Linked DNA regions of Homo sapiens: all the other regions are linked to region 1. The links are contacts of gene promoters, found by promoter capture Hi-C in human tissues and cell types (Jung and others, 2019). All regions are on one chromosome and are shown on one strand. The core of a region is centred on a gene start or on the middle of the fragment in contact, and the rest is flanking DNA. Distances in the headings are between cores, read along the strand shown.

Region 1 (5,080 bases), core at 1-2,500:
GGTATTGGGCGTGGTGGCTCACGCCTGTAATCCCAGCACTTTGGGAGGCCAAGGTGGGTGGATCACTTGAGGTCAGGAGTTCAAGACCAGCCTGGTCAACATGGTGAAACCCCATCTCTGCTAAAAAAAAAAAAAAAAAAAAAAAAAAATCACCTGGGTGTGGTGGTACGTGCCTGTAGTCCCAGCTACTTGGGAGGATGAGGCAGGAGAATCACTTGAACCTGGGAGGCAGAGGTTGCAGTGAGCTTAGATCACGCCACTGCACTCCAGCATGGGGGACGGAGCGAGACTCCTTCTCAAAAAAAAAAAAAAAAAAAAAAAAGTTGGAGAGCTGGCCTGGTGCTTCCTGAACATCCAGTTTGAAAAGCTCCCAAAGGTGATCCTAATATGCAGCCCAAGTGAAGAAGCACTGACCTAAGGATGAAAATGTAGAGACGGAAGAGAAGAGGACCCAAGGGCACGCCAGCCTCTAGAGTAGGGCAGATGAGGACACGCAGCCAGCAAAGGAGACTGAGAAAGAACAGCCCATGAGGCAGGAGGACAACCAAGAGAGTGTTTCCAGGAAAGTGTTTCTATGAATCTTGCTGCTCAAAATGTAGTCTTCAGACCAGCAGCATCAGCATCACCTGAGAGTGTGAAGGAATGCAAACTCTCAGGCCCCACCCCAGGCCCTCTGAGCCCTCATCTGCATTTTAGCAACATCCCCAGATGATGCATGTGCTTATTAAAGTCTGAGTCAAGTAACCATTGGATGATCTTGGCAGAGCAGTTGGAGTGGGTGACGGGTAGAAGCTGCACTGGGGTGGGAAAGAGAATAAATGAAGGGGGTGAGGAAGTGGGGCCAGTGCGTGTGAAGGGGGCAAAGAGGGTATGGCCTAAGGAAGAGCGCTGACCCTAAGGAAGGACATGATTGCTCTGTAACAGGAGAGAGAAAAGAGAAGATACCAGATTCGGGGATGGAAAGATGAGAGTCCCATTCTAATGGCTATTTTCATCCATTTTCTCAAAGACTGGGGGAGTTAAACTGGGGAGAGGGAACAGGAGGCTGAACTGGGACAGACTTGTCTCAGAGCTGCCTGGGTGATGCTGAGACTGGCAATGGGAGGCGGGAAACGGCTGCCCCCTCTCTAAGATGCAGCTCCTCTCTCCAGGACCCCCAGCCGAGCCTCTGGAGCCCACAAGGCCACTCCCTACACTCCCCGTCCGCAGGATCCACTCACCATCGGAGAGGAAACACGAGCGCCAGCCCAGGCCCCCTCGGCCGCCCCTCGGGGACCGGCCATCCACACCAGGCACCAAACCCAACATCTGTGACGGCAACTTCAACACAGTGGCCCTCTTCCGGGGCGAGATGTTTGTCTTTAAGGTAGGGCCAATGGATTGGCACCACCCAGCTGGCCCCTGACCTTTCCTCCTCCTCCCCGACATCATGGAGCTGGGGAAGGCTCCTGATTTGGGATTCGATTACAATGGGGCCTGGACAGGAGCTAGCCCAGTGGCCAGGGCATGGGGTCTCTTCCTAGTGCTGCTGGGTGAATCAACTGTTCCCAAGAGGGAGGGGGAAAGATGGGTGATCCCTCACCTCCCCTGGGGTTAATGCTGGGAGAAAGTGCTGGAAGCTGGCTTCTGGTCTGTGACCACCCTTCTTGGGACCTCAGTTTCTCCATCCGAAACCTGGGGGAGTCATTCCTCTAACAAAGAGTGTGTGAAGATCCAGTGAGTACCCGGCTCTGAAGATGGTCAACTTGGAGTAGGGGCTAGGTCAGTGGTGGCTGAGTCTGACTCCAGACCCTACCAAGGCTTGAGGGGCTGCTACTGGCAGCAGCCCAGGGTATATCTTGTCATCTGTCCTCCATCAGCCATGGACTGACAGGGTGGCAGTCTGCTTGACGTGTTGCAGGTTGGGCTCTCGGGGAGTGAACTCTGAGGTGGGGTCTGGAATGCAGGATTTCGATTAGAGAGTACTTTCAGAATCAACATTTGTGAGGGGGAGAAGGAAGCAGGACAGGGAAGAGGGAGAGGTTAAGTGGCAACAGAGGCCCATGGCAGCCTCAGCCACCCCCGCAGGGAGCTCTGGGGCTACGGTGGCCTGTCACTCAGCCTACGTTGGGTCCAAAATATCTGGAACATTATAACCCCTACCTCATTCAATCACTGGATGAGGAAGGGCATCCAGTGACTGAGGAGAGCTCTCTGAAGCAGGGAACATCCCCAAAGGGGCTGACAGTTGAAAACTGCCTGCTGGCCACACTGCTGGCCACTGGGGCAACAAGCCCTTCTCTGAAGGGGATCTGGGCAGGGTGGCTCCATCACACAGGATGGTGAAAGAGGCTGCCTCGCTCCCCTTGTGGAGTTCTCCCAGCACGCACTGAGCACTGCGCAGGAATCGGGCAGCGTGAGTCAGCCCCAGTCTGGCTTCTCACTGAGTGGCTCTAGGCAAGTCACCTGGCCTTTCTTAAGACTCCGTATATCTCAGATCAACTTAACAGAGACATGAAAGTCAAAATAAGGTCAAAAACCTGGATGTGAAAGTGCTTTGTAAAACACCTTTTAAAATACTAGCTTTTGTACCATCTTTTACAAATCATGCTTCTTCTTCTGCACTCATTCTACTTTGATCCAACTGAACCGTTCATAGGCAGGTCCGGGTTTTATCATCCCCATTTACACATAAGAAAACTGAGGCCTGGAGGCTGGGCGCAGTGGCTCACGCCTTGCAATCCCAACACTTTGGGAGGCCAAGGAGGGCGGATCATAAGGTCAGGAGATCAAGACCATCCTGGCTAACATGGTGAAACCCCATCTCTACTAAAAATATAAAAAATTAGCCGGGTGTGGTGGCGGGCGCCTGTAGTCCCAGCTACTCAGGAGGCTGAGGCAGGAGAATAGCATGAACCTGGGAGGCGGAGCTTGCAGTGAGCCGAGATTGCGCCACTGCACTCCAGCCTGGGTGACAGAGCGAGACTCCATCTAAAAAAAAAAAAAAAGAAAGAAAACTGAGGCCTGGAGGCTACAGGCCTTGCCTAGACTGCTTGTGTACCAGCCCAAGACTGAGGCACCAGTTACAAGAGGCGTTTTTACTGGACTCGGACTATTTAGCTGCCATTTACTCAACATGGACTGTGTGCCCCGTACTGGTCTGGGCATTTTGCCTAGAATCTCTCATCTGATTCTCCATTATTACCTGCACTTGCAGGTGAGGCCTAGGTCATGCAGCTATAAATGGAGGAATGTGAATTCATGCCCAGGTCTCGAGGGAATTCCCATGACTTGGCTTCCATGATCCTGGCCCTGCTGGATGGAGCCAGCCTCATGGAGGGCGCTCGGCCCAGGCTCAGTGACCACCCCAGCCTCCCACTGTCCCGAGGACCAGTCTGGCTGATGTCAGTGACGCTCCACTGCCCCCATGTGGCCACTCCAGGCCCCAACATCATCCTTTCCGGCTCCCTCACACCTCCTTTTCCACACCAGGCCTGTCTGCTGTTTGTCTCATTGTCCACCCAGCAGCAAGAGTCAGCAGGAGGCTGAATTGAAGACAGTTACAGGAGCATCCTGTCTTCCTCCCAGGGCTTTAAAAGTCAGAAGCAGCTAATGGACAGTCTCGGTGGAGGGCTGGGCTGTTGGGACCTAAGCCCCACAGCTGCAATCACTGGGTTCGGAGGCAGGGCCTGACACACCTCTCTCCCCCTCTCCCGCTTCCTCCCAGGATCGCTGGTTCTGGCGTCTGCGCAATAACCGAGTGCAGGAGGGCTACCCCATGCAGATCGAGCAGTTCTGGAAGGGCCTGCCTGCCCGCATCGACGCAGCCTATGAAAGGGCCGATGGGAGATTTGTCTTCTTCAAAGGTAATGTAGACTGTGCTGTGGGACAGTTCCCTGCCCAAGGTCTTGGGACCTCCTTTTTCCCATCTAAACTGGAAGAGGCGGGGTGGGAGGCAGATGTCCTCAGAGGGCCCCTCTAGTCTAACGGAGACACTGACCTCTGACAAATCAAGTCAGAAAGTGAGACTGAGAATCTGTATGTGCCGAGATTGGTGGGGTGACCAGCTTCGTCCACATGAAGTAGAGTGTGGGACAAGCAATTGAAGACCACCCAGTACCTCATGGGAGGCCATCGGGTCAGTTCTGTAAGAACCCAGAGGGAAGAGGTCACTCAAGCTGGGGAGGTCGGGGGAGGGTGTGGGAGGGAGCTAAGGTGCCCACCCTGTACCCAGCACTGTGCTAGGTTGTTTCATGACAGTTATCTTGACTCGGGCCAGACCTCAGATGGGTGAGATACAGATAGTGAGAAGCAAGGAAGGCATTCCAGAGGGACAACGGCTGAATAAAGGAGCAGGGCTGGGATGTGTACGGACGGCCACAGGGCTTAGAAGGCCCACCTGATGGCCACGGAGGCCCCGCCTTGGAAAGCTGTGAGAAATGGCCCAGAAAGGTCATTTGGAGGCAAATCCTGAAGAGCCCTGGCTGCCAGGCCAGAATGTGGTCTTGATCCATTAGGCCAAGGCTGGAAATTCATGGAATGTTTCCGAGCAGCAGAGAGCCAGAGGGCAGGAGGTGACAGACATGGCAGGGGCAGGGCAGCCATTTCTGAGGTGGTTCTGGAGCGCGCCACTCATGAGGCCCAAATGAGGGAGGAGCCGTGCAGCTGAAGGGCAGGGGACAGCTGCCAGGAGAGTCAGAGGGCCTCAGAAGTGGCTGAATACTCGGCCAGGCGCAGTGGCTCACGCCCGAAATCCCAGCACTTTGGGAGGCCAAGGCTGGCAGATCACCTGAGGTCAGGAGTTTGAGACCAGCCTGACCAACATGGTGAAACCACGTCTCTACTAAAATTACAAAAACTAGCCAAGCATGGTGGCACGTGCCTGTAATCCTAGCTACTCAGGAGGCTGAGGCAGGAGAATCGCTTGAACCCAGGAAGTGGAGGTTGTGGTGAGCTGAGATCACACCATTGCACTCCAGCCTGGGCAACAAGAGCCAAACTCCATCTTAAAAAAAAGAAGTGGCTGAATACTGAGAGGAGAAGGAAAGAGAGGGTCAACAGTGAGGCTAGGACTCCCTGTTGGGGACCTGGGAGGCAGAAG
Region 2 (5,080 bases), core at 1,320-3,819, 470 kb after region 1:
ACTAAGACACAAGAATCTTAACATTAAAACAGAAAGTAGCTCTTCAAGAGTCTAAGCATTACAAAATTACATACACTATTTAAATCTATCAAGAATTCATCCAAATTGGTACCACATGGTCGTGCTATACAATCCAAAACAAATGTATTATTTTTAAAAGGTTTAGTGAAATGTTTATTTTAAAGTTTGATTACATCAGCTATAGGAGTAAAGTGCTAACTTACAAAGCTTACAGTTTGTGACACCAGTGATAATGCATGCATACTGCTATTTTCACCACCAACTGGTGAAACAATGAAAAGACAGTTTACTTTTACTGAGATACCGAAATGAGTCAAAGACTATATTAGCCAATATAATTCCTTTGTTTTTAGTGTGAAATACTATGGTAGGGCCTAATTAAAAATAAAAACAATATGGAGAACAGTAAAACAGTCATCAAGTGACTCTAAGCTTGTATTTACTCTAAGCTTGTATTAAGCTTGTATTGACTCTACTGCCTCTTGTATTTTTTTTTTTTAATTTCTATTCAGGGATCCAAGAATTTTAGTAATTATTAACTGAGCAGCAGATTGCCACTGGACTGTTTTAAGATTTACTATCACCAGTCTTACATAGATACATAAATTTTAAAATCTCACCCATTTCTTCTTATAAGACTGTTAGAAGATTTAACTTGCCACAGACTGGTCATGCTTTGTTATTCTTGGACCCCTGCTTTTTCCCAAACCACTACATTCACCTTTTTGCTATACCAAACTGGAGGTGGTAATTCTTAGTTGAGTCATTTTACCTAGGGGACCACGGTACAGCGATAAGTCACTCAATTACTACCTTATGATTGACAGTTCACACTGGAATCAAAGGTGAATTCATGGGAGTAGAGGTGAGATATCGTTAGGCAAGTCTACAAAGAGAGATAGATGGGCATTTATTCATCACGCTGAAGTGAAACTACTGCACAATATTATTACATCAATAGCATATATTTACTTTTGTAAGTTACACGTAATGCATCTCTGATAAGATAAATCAAGAGGGCTCCGGGGAGGTTAGTTTACATTTCAGCAGTAGTTTCGTGAATAATGCTAAATTAAGAAATATATAAACCTCACCGACATGTTTTTTCTCACCTTCTTGTAAGGAGCCTCAAGCATTGCTTCAATATCAATATCGTCTGCCATTTTCTCTAAACGCCTAGGAAGAGAACAAGACAATTTCTTGAGTAAACATTTCTCTTACAATGTGAAACAAGTTTCACTCTTGTTGCCTATATCGTCTAACATTTTCTCTAAACGCCTAGGAAAAGAACAAGACGATTCCGTGAGTAAACATTTTTCTTTTTTTTTTTTTTTTTTTTTGAGACGGAGTTTCGCTCTAGTTGCCCAGGCTGAAGTGCAGTAGCGCGATCTCGGCTCACTGCAAGCTCCGCCTCCCAGGTTCCAGCGATCCTACCACCTCACCTCCCGAATAGCTGGGATCACAGGCGCCTGCCACCACGCCCGGCTAATTTTTGTATTTTTGGTAGAGACGGGGTTTCACCATGTTGATGAGGTTGGTCTCGAACTCCTAACCTCAAGTGATCCGCCTGCCTCTGCCTCCCAAACTGCTGGGATTACAGGCGTGAGCCACCGCGCCCGGCCTGGTAAACGTTTTTCAAATCGACTGAATTTTTCTTCTCAGCCGACACACTCGAAAACTTAAGAAAAACCTCCAAAAGCCCTACAATTAATGACTAAAGTGACATGCACTTTAACCAGGTTTGGCTTACGTAAGTAAATCCAAAACGCCTCTTACACGAAACACACGAAAATGAAGACTTCAATATCCAATATTTAAAACTCTGCTGTCAACTCCAAAAACAGAAACTGGGAGACCCGAACGAGAGCGCCTCTTTCCGGGCAAAAACCCGCGCTGCCATTTTAGGGGCAAAGAGAAACTCCCTCCATTGGGAGGGGTTATGAGCCAAGGCAGCGTTCAACTGGCGCCATGTTGGGAGGTCGCGGCCGGCCCAGGCCTCGAAGGAGACAGGTCACCATTCTACCGCGGCCTCTCGGGGGTCCCTACCGCCCCAAGAATCCAGACTATACCCGACTGGAAAATAAGGGCGCGGTCACTGAAACAGGGCCGATTTCTCGAAAACCACCCCCCACCCCGGTCGCTAAAGACCTCCAAAAGCGCCCCTCAGCCCAAAATGGAGCCAAACCTCGAGAAAGCTGAGATAATACGCGGGTCCGCAACGCCCCGTACCTGTTCCGGCCTTCGGGCGCCTGTGGTGCTCGTGTTCGGGAAGAGATTGCTGCTGCTGCTGCTGCTGCTGCCGCCGCCGCCGCTTCTGTTGCTACTGTTAAGCCCCTAGGCCCAGGCCGCGGAACCGCCCAGCCCGAATATCGGGTTCCAAGGACGGCTAGGCCCGAGAGAATCTAAAAAAAACAATGGAATTAGAGAAGCCCACGCGGGAGAGCAGGACGGCGGCTTCGGCAGCTCAGGATCCACCCCTGCGACAGCGTCGACAAGCTCCCTGAAATGGCGGCCGCTGCTTCCCTGTACTCACATTCACCAGCACACATACACACACACAAACACACGGGGCCTCACAGAGCCCTCAGCACGGGCTCTCGCGAGAAGCTGCCCCAAGCTCCAAATTTGAGCGGCCGAAGTATCGCGAGACCTAAGTATGGCTCCGGCGACCGTAGCCCAATCTCGCGCAATGATTGCGCCACAGATATTCCCATCCCCCATTCAGTGAGGCGCCTTTCACTCCCCCTCCGCGTAAGCACCCAAATCTCGCGAGACAGAGCGGGTCTCTAGGGCAAAGACAGTTGGTAGGCTGCCTGTCAATCTTTCAGAGAGCTCTTCGCTGAGTGGAGCTCAGCGGTCACCTCCCCCTCGTGGCGCCTCCTCACGGCCATCTGAAGATTCCTCCGGCACAGCCGATCGCCCCCGCTCCGGCCTCCCACACAGATGGCTGTCAAGGTCGCCATAAGGCAACCTAGTCCTTATGGCGATAGGATAAAACGGCCATATTCAGATTATCCGCTGAGGGTGGAGAGGAAGTGGAAAAGTGTATCAGAAGGCCAGAAGAAGAGATCTTTAGGGGTAGGGGGAGAGGGGGAGATAATAAAAATAGATTTCCCTGTCATTTGGAGCCAATGGCGCGGCCTCCACTGTCGAGCTTTGAAACAACCTTGGAAATAGTGGAGAAAAGCAAAAAAAAGGTGGAAAAAATAAACTCTTGCTTCCCTTGGCATGGGATCAGTTTTGTGCCCCGAATTTAATCAGCTCTTGTGTCAGGGTTGCTACCGTTCCTTCAAAAATGTTCCCCTTCCTGAATATTACTGGACGATTTGGTGAAAAAATAAGACACCCCCCCAACAAAAAAAAAAAGGCCCCCTTCCCCCTGGGACCTGGCTCCTCTCCCCTGAAGTCTTCTAGATGCCAGGTAATTAGAGTATGAATTAGCCATTTGTTCTTTGGTCAGTACTGTGTGAGGTTTCCTCCTAGATGCTGGGAAAAAAAACTGGAAAGAAGTCTTCAAAGCAAAAATCTTACCCTCTAATCTTAACAGTCTAATGATTGAGGGCAGAAAAGATTGGAAATGAGACGCCTTGATTAGTGTAACTAGCTGCTGCAACACTGTGTGACCTTGGACAAGCAAATTAACCTCTCAGAGGGGATCTTTCATTTCCTGATTTAAAAGAGGACGTACTTAGTAGCTAGTCTAAGCTACTTGAGACTGAGGAAGGCAGGTAATGCTCAGTACTGAATTTTTAGAGGTTAGCAGGGCATGTCTGCCCAAGTGGACCCTCAGTAAATTAATGAATGAAGGCTCAGAAGGGCTATAGTGAAGATTAAATGATATAATGTCTGTAAAACGCCTGGTAAATATTTGATCTTCAAAACAGCTAACTTCTGTTTCTGCTAAACAAAATTATTTAGAGCAAATATAGATGTTAAGTGGTTTTGCCTCTCAGGTTAACTTTACACACAGGTTAGGATTTATCTTAGAGGATTATTAATAACAGTTATTTTGTAGTTAGAATACTCCCTTAATCCTTTTTCTGAAAATTCAGATCCTCTTTTTATTTTATTTCTGAGACAGTCTCGCTCTGGAGGCTGGGCGCAGTGGCTCATGCATCTAATCCCAGCACTTTGGGAGGCCGACGCGGGTGGACCGCCTGAGGTCAGGAGTTCAAGACCTGACCAACATGGCGAAACCCTGTCTCTACTAAAAATAAAAAAAAAACTAGGTGGCAGGCGCCTGCAATTCCCAGCTACTCGGGAGGCTGAGGCAGGAGAATCACTTGAACCTGGGAGGCAGAGGTTGCAGTGAGCTGAGATCATGCCATTGCACTCCAGCCTGGGTGACAGAGATCGAGACTCCATCTCAAAAAAAAAAGAAAGAAAAAGAAAGAAAAGAAAACTGTCACAGGAAATTGAAGCATAATATGTCAGAAATAAAGCAAGCTAACCTTTGCTATCTCTTCCTGCCCCTCGGTAATTCCAGTATTATGACTAGTGCAAAATGAAAGCATGAAGATGGCACTTGGTTTTTCTTGTTTGTTTAGGAACATGACATGACAGAATTTGACCTTAACCGCTAGACTTCTTGTTTGGGAAGAGGAAGGATTTAAGCTCTAAGTCGCTTGATGATTTAAGGTCCCTTAAATAGTTTTCTGCTCAAGGACCATCAGAGGCAATATGGCAACTTAGCAGATCATCAAGAAAAGCCGTTTGGAAAAATCAAGTTTCTGAAACAAGTATTTTTTATGTTTAAAAGAAAATATCCCCAGGCATGGCGGCTCATGGCCTGTTATCCCAGCACTTTGAGAGGCCAAGGCAGGAGGATTGCTTGAGTCCAGGAGTTTGAGACCAGCCTGGACAATATAGCAAGACCCTGTCTCTACAAAAAATTTAAAATTAGCCAGACGTGGTGATGCATGTCTGTAGTTCCAACTACTCAGGAGGCTGAGATGGGAGGATAGCTTGGGCCCAGGACTTCAAGACTGCAGTCAGCTAGAATCACGTGCCACTTCACCCCAGCCTGGGCTGCAGAGCAAGACCCTGTCTCTTAACACAA
Region 3 (5,080 bases), core at 1,223-3,722, 310 kb before region 1:
AAGTCTGCCAGCCTCAGCACAATGCTTTGAAAGAATGCGCATGTGATCTCAAGAGGGTCCTGATAATATCCCTGTTGAGTGAGACATACATGAGGGCAATCATAGTAAAGAACAAGGTTCAAGTCAGACAGACAGACAGACCTGGGTTTGAGTCCATAATAATACGACTTCTCCCTTTCCCTTCTTTCCTTCCTTCCTTTTCCCTTTCCCTTTCCCTTCCCTCCTTCTTTCCTTCCTTCCTTCCTTCTTTTTCTTTCTTTCTCTCTCTCTCCCTCCCTCTTTCTTTCTTTTTTTTTTTTTTTGACGGAGTCTGGCTCTGTCGCCCAGGCTGGAGTGCAGCCGCACGATCTCGGCTCACTGCAAGCTCCGCCTCCTGGGTTCATGCCATTCTCCTGCCTCAGCCTCCCGAGTAGCTGGGACTACAGGCACCTGCCACCATGCCCGGCTAATTTTTTGTATTTTTAGTAGAGACGGGGTTTCACCGTGTTAGCCAGGATGGTCTCGATCTCGTGATCCCCCACTCTCGGCCTCCCAAAGTGCTGGGATTACAGGCGTGAGCCACCCCGCCCAGCCGACTTCCCTTTCAAGTAAGATTGCTGTGTGGATTAAAAGAGAAAAATCAGTGTGAAATTTATCAGCAGTGTTTGAAGCTCTATACATGAGACCATTTTTTGGCTGTACTCTCTTTATAGGTAGGAGGAGACTTGTCAGAGGTCACACAGAAGCCTAGTGGCAGAGCCAGGACAAGAACCCATTACCTTGACATTAGAGTAATGAAACCCTCCATGAGCCCCCATCGTTCCACAACTCTGAAATTCCAACATCTGTTTGCTGTTGGGCTTTTATTTAGTTGGCAAACACTGATTTGCATTTAATGCCACTCCCTTGACTAGGTACTGGGGATATGGAGGAGGATAAGACATAAAGATAATCACCATGGGCCAGGTGTGGTGGCTCACTCGTGTAATCCCAGCACTTTGTGAGGCCGAGGCAGGCGGATCACCCGAGGTCGGGAGTTCGAGACCAGCCTCACCAACATGGAGAAACCCCATCTCTACTAAAAATACAAAATTAGCCGGGCCTGGTGGCGCATGCCTGTAATCCGAGCTACTTGGGAGGCTGAGGCAGGAGAATAGCTTGAACCCAGGAGGTGGAGGTTGTAGTGAGCCGAGATCGTGCCATTGCACTCCAGCCTGGGCAACAAGAGCAAAGCTCTGTCAAAAAAAAAAAAAAAGAAAAAAAGAAAGAAAGAAAAGAAATCAGATGAAGGTGCTAAGTGGGCCCTTTGTTTTTCTCATTCTACAGCCTCAACCCTCCCTTGGCTTTATTTATGTTTTGCTGATGACATTCAAATCTACATCTTCACAGCAATACTTTCCTACCTTCAAACTAGAATATCCAATTTTTTCCTGCGAGTCTCCATACAACCAGAATAGAATTTGTTGTTGTCTCCCACAAATCTGCTTCTTCTCTGATGAACCCCACCCAGGTACCCAAGCCTTGAGTACTTGTTTCCTACATCTCACTCTCCCCAAATCCTATGGATTTTGCTGCCTAAGTATATAGTACTTTGAATTCCTTTATTTATCTCCATTTCCAGAGTTTGTAGCCTAGCCCCGGCCACTGTCATCTCTTCCCTGGGCGTGAAACAGATTCAGAGTCAGGTGTCTTCAGTGACCAGGATATGTTGGCCTCTGTCCCCCTTCCAGGACTTGGCACGTGCTGTCTTCTCTTTGGAACTCTCGCCACCACTCCTGATCTGGGCTCGCGATTTCGTTCCGGAAGCTGTCCCTGTTCTCCGCCCCGGGCTTCTACATTCTACAGCCCATCACTTTTCCCTGTACCGTAGGAACAGTGTTTGTCTTGATCACTTCTCTACCTAGTAATTAGCCGCGCTTAGTACTGTATTCATTCATCACATGAATGAATGAAGAATGAATGACAGACGGGTCAGATCACCGAAAGCCTCAAAACGCCCACAAGGAAATCGGTCGCACTTTATCGCCAGGACTTAGGCCAGTGCCTGGAAAGGCCCCGAGGCAACGACACGGTCGGCTGCCCAGGCTGGCCCCACTTCACGGGCCCGCTCGCTTCCACCCTGGACAAAGTTTGGCCCTAATCGCTCCCCGTTGTAGCTCTAACTGGCTCCAGTCTCACTGGCCTACATGCCCCGACACCGGCCCGATCTAAAGGCAGAAGATCCGGAAAGTCTGGGATCAGTGCGCGCCAGCCCAACCCCCTCACTAGACACTAGTTGCCCCGCTCCTACGAAGGGTTTCAGCCACAAGGTCTCCCGGCCTCCGGAATTCCAATCTCTTGCCAGACCCCTCCCTCACATCGTTCCTCCCGAGGAAACGTGACCCATGCCGGCCGCCGTGGCCGCCCCAACCTACTAGTTCGCCTTTCCTCCGCGAACGGTTCTCCCGGCCCTCGCGCCGCTACCCAGGCTCAGGGGGCGGGGCCTCGATGCGACCCAGTGCGCTTGCGCTGACCGCCCCGGCTAGGCTTAAAGAGCAGGCGGGGCAGAGACCCATACCTTTGGCGCTGAGTCGAGGCCAGGAAGGGGCGGTCGATGAGAGGGCGGCCTTAGCATTAGGAGTGCGTCGGCTGCACCCTGGCGGATGGACCTTGGGAAGGAGGGGAGGGGACCATCGGGGTCGGCGGGGAGCTACGGGTATGCATAGCTCATAGAGCGTCAGAGCTGACGACGACTAGTGGAAGATGGGGAAACTAATGCTCAGAGCGGGACAGTCACTACCTCAGGGGCACACAATTGATAAGGGTGGGGGTGGCCGTGGTAATGGAGGCCCCAAGGAGGGGCAGGGGCCCATAGTACGTCAGGGGCTGAGCCTGTATTAGAACCCAGGCTTGTTTCCCAGCCCAGCCAAGTCCCAGAAAAATCCCCCTGATTTTATCTATTTTTTTTTAACCTGGGATACCAGCAGGGAAAGCATTAGAGGCAAAAGGAAAGGATTTTCATTTTTCCAGGAATGCTGAAGTCAGGACTGTTTGAGGGGAGCCCTGTGTTTCTCAGACTCTCTTGTACCGTTTACATCAGGATCTGGGGCAGTTTTTAAAAATATGCGGATTCATGATTCCTACCCCCCACCTCATTGCTTGGCAGCCCCCAGGTGCCTTCCCTGTTTCTTCCTTCTGGGTTGTGATAGGCTTGTCTGCAGTCCGAAGCACCTGATACGAATTTTAGTTAAATGGAATGTATCAGTCCAGCTTCTAGGGAATTAACCATAAATAAGACACAGCCACTGCTTTCAGTCTGATAAGATAGGCAATAAACTGCCTTTCTGAAGGAATCAGGGATGGTTTTTGGGGTCTTGAAGGATGGATAGGAAGGTATAGGTAGTGAAGGAGGTAGGGGTAGAGGTGAGAGGCTGGGATGGGGACAGTGTTCCAAATTGCAGGAACAAAAGCAGCAAAGGCTGGCTGGGTGCAGTGGCTCAGACCTGTAATCCCAGCACTTTGAGAGGCCGAGGCAGGTGGATTACTTGAGCTCAGGAGTTGGAGACCAGGCTGGGCAACATGGCGAAACCCCGTCTCTACTAGAAATACAAGAATTAGCCGGGTGTGTTGGCCCGTGCCTGTAATCCCAGCTACTCGGGAGGCTGCGGCGTGAGAATTCTTGAGCCCCGGAGACGGAGGCTGCTGTGAGCTGAGATCACGCTGCAGCACTCCTGCCTGGGTGACAGCGTGAGACCCTGTCCTAAAAACAAAACAAACGAGCAGCGAAGGCATATAATTCTGAGGGTTGCTCGGCTTGTTTTACAGACACTGAGGAGTTTGGTGTGGATAATGAGGAAGGGCCTGAGGGTTGCAACAGGACTTAGGCGCTTAGGCTTGGAGAGGTAGCCTCAGACGCCAGTTCCACTGAGCAACAGGAGCTAAGGGCTTTAAGCAGGGGAAGGACATGGTTAGTTTTGTGTGTTAGGCACTGGTTACAGCGTGACAAATGGTTTGGAAGTGGGGAGATGGGCCAGAGAAAGCAGAGAGAGTTAAGATGTGAGATCATGAGGCTGTAGCCAGTGCAGCAGCTGTGGAGATGGAGCGAAGCGAACAGATCAAAGAAATTTAGGAGTGAGAACTCCTAGTGATCGTAAATCAGTGGCCCAACCCAGGGACCAAGATCCTTTTGACTCTTTTTTTTTTTTTTTTTTTTTGAGACGGAGTTTTCGTTGTTGTTGCCCAGGCTGGAGTGCAGTGGCACGATCTCAGCTCACTGCAACCTCCACTTCCCAGGTTCAAGCAATTCTCCTGCCTCAGCCTCCCAAGTAGCTGGGATTACAGGCGTCCACCACCACACCCGGCTAATTTTTGTATTTTTGGTAGAGACAGGGTTTCACCATGTTGGCCAGATTGGTCTGAAACTCTTGAGCTCAGGTGATCCACCCGCCCCAGCCTCCCAGAGTGCTAGGATTACAGGCGTTAGCCACTGCGCCCGGCCCCTTTTGACTCTTTAAATAAACCATGTACATTATCTGACTACAGGACAGGCTGAGTCCTCCAGTCTCCCGTGTGTGGTCACGGGATGGGGGGAGATGGTGGCAGATAGGTGTCTGGTTATTCCCAGAACAATGTTTCCTGATGTCCTTTCCTCGTTGGCTTTTGTACCTGAGGGGATAAGCAGCTGTTAACTAGAATAGGCCCCAGGTGGCAGGAAGAGGCTCCTGGGTCAACCAGGAACAAAAGAAGCTATTTCTAGTGCAGCATGAAATTAAAAATCAAAAGCATGACCCAGGGTTCTCTGTGCAGGTTCCCCTCTTCCAAGACGGGTGCCAAGTGATGAGTATCAGGTGTCTATGGTGAGATTTGGGGAGGATCCCAGACCTTAACAGCCCTTTGGTTGAAACCTCTCACAATGTGGCAGGTAAGATGTCTTTATTCCCATTTTGTAGATGTGGCAGCTGAGCCTCAGAAGTTACGTGACTTGTTCAAGGTGACCCAGTTTGTGGTAGGACTGGGAGTGAAGGACTCTTGACTAAGAATCTTTCCAGGGAGCGTTTGCCCTTTCTGCACTCTCTGCCTGGGTGCTTTCCTCCAAAATCCTGGCATGACTGGCTCCTTTGGT

What was found. Contacts are between HindIII fragments. The study calls those that stand out against the background at their distance.
Region 2: the fragment with the promoter of RBM39 here is called in contact with a fragment that was not itself captured in region 1 in 2 of the 25 tissues and cell types used here (dorsolateral prefrontal cortex and spleen).
Region 3: the fragment with the promoter of GSS here is called in contact with a fragment that was not itself captured in region 1 in 2 of the 25 tissues and cell types used here (dorsolateral prefrontal cortex and lymphoblastoid cells).

Annotation. Positions count from the first base shown.
Region 1 is chr20:35,266,054-35,271,133 of GRCh38, forward strand. The region is part of intron 2 of MMP24-AS1-EDEM2 (MMP24-AS1-EDEM2 readthrough); the gene reads right to left. It overlaps MMP24 (matrix metallopeptidase 24), which reads left to right. Exons shown (of 9, transcript NM_006690.4): 6 at 1,152-1,366; 7 at 3,707-3,845. Among named protein-coding and RNA genes, the nearest start is that of MMP24-AS1-EDEM2, 9.5 kb to the right of the region's middle. The HindIII fragment of the contact is 9,806 bases long and covers 1-5,080 here.
Region 2 is chr20:35,739,691-35,744,770 of GRCh38, forward strand. RBM39 (RNA binding motif protein 39) reads right to left here and starts at 2,570. Exons shown (of 17, transcript NM_184234.3): 1 at 2,251-2,570; 2 at 1,134-1,197. The coding sequence starts at 1,184. RefSeq lists a silencer at 1,950-2,049 and enhancers at 2,310-2,459, 2,473-3,158, 2,520-2,739, 2,910-3,009. The HindIII fragment of the contact is 31,582 bases long and covers 1-5,080 here.
Region 3 is chr20:34,953,334-34,958,413 of GRCh38, forward strand. GSS (glutathione synthetase) reads right to left here and starts at 2,473. Exons shown (of 13, transcript NM_000178.4): 1 at 2,394-2,473. MYH7B (myosin heavy chain 7B) reads left to right here and starts at 2,535. Exons shown (of 45, transcript NM_020884.7): 1 at 2,535-2,674; 2 at 4,765-4,879. RefSeq lists enhancers at 2,281-2,380, 2,621-2,800. The HindIII fragment of the contact is 12,827 bases long and covers 1-5,080 here.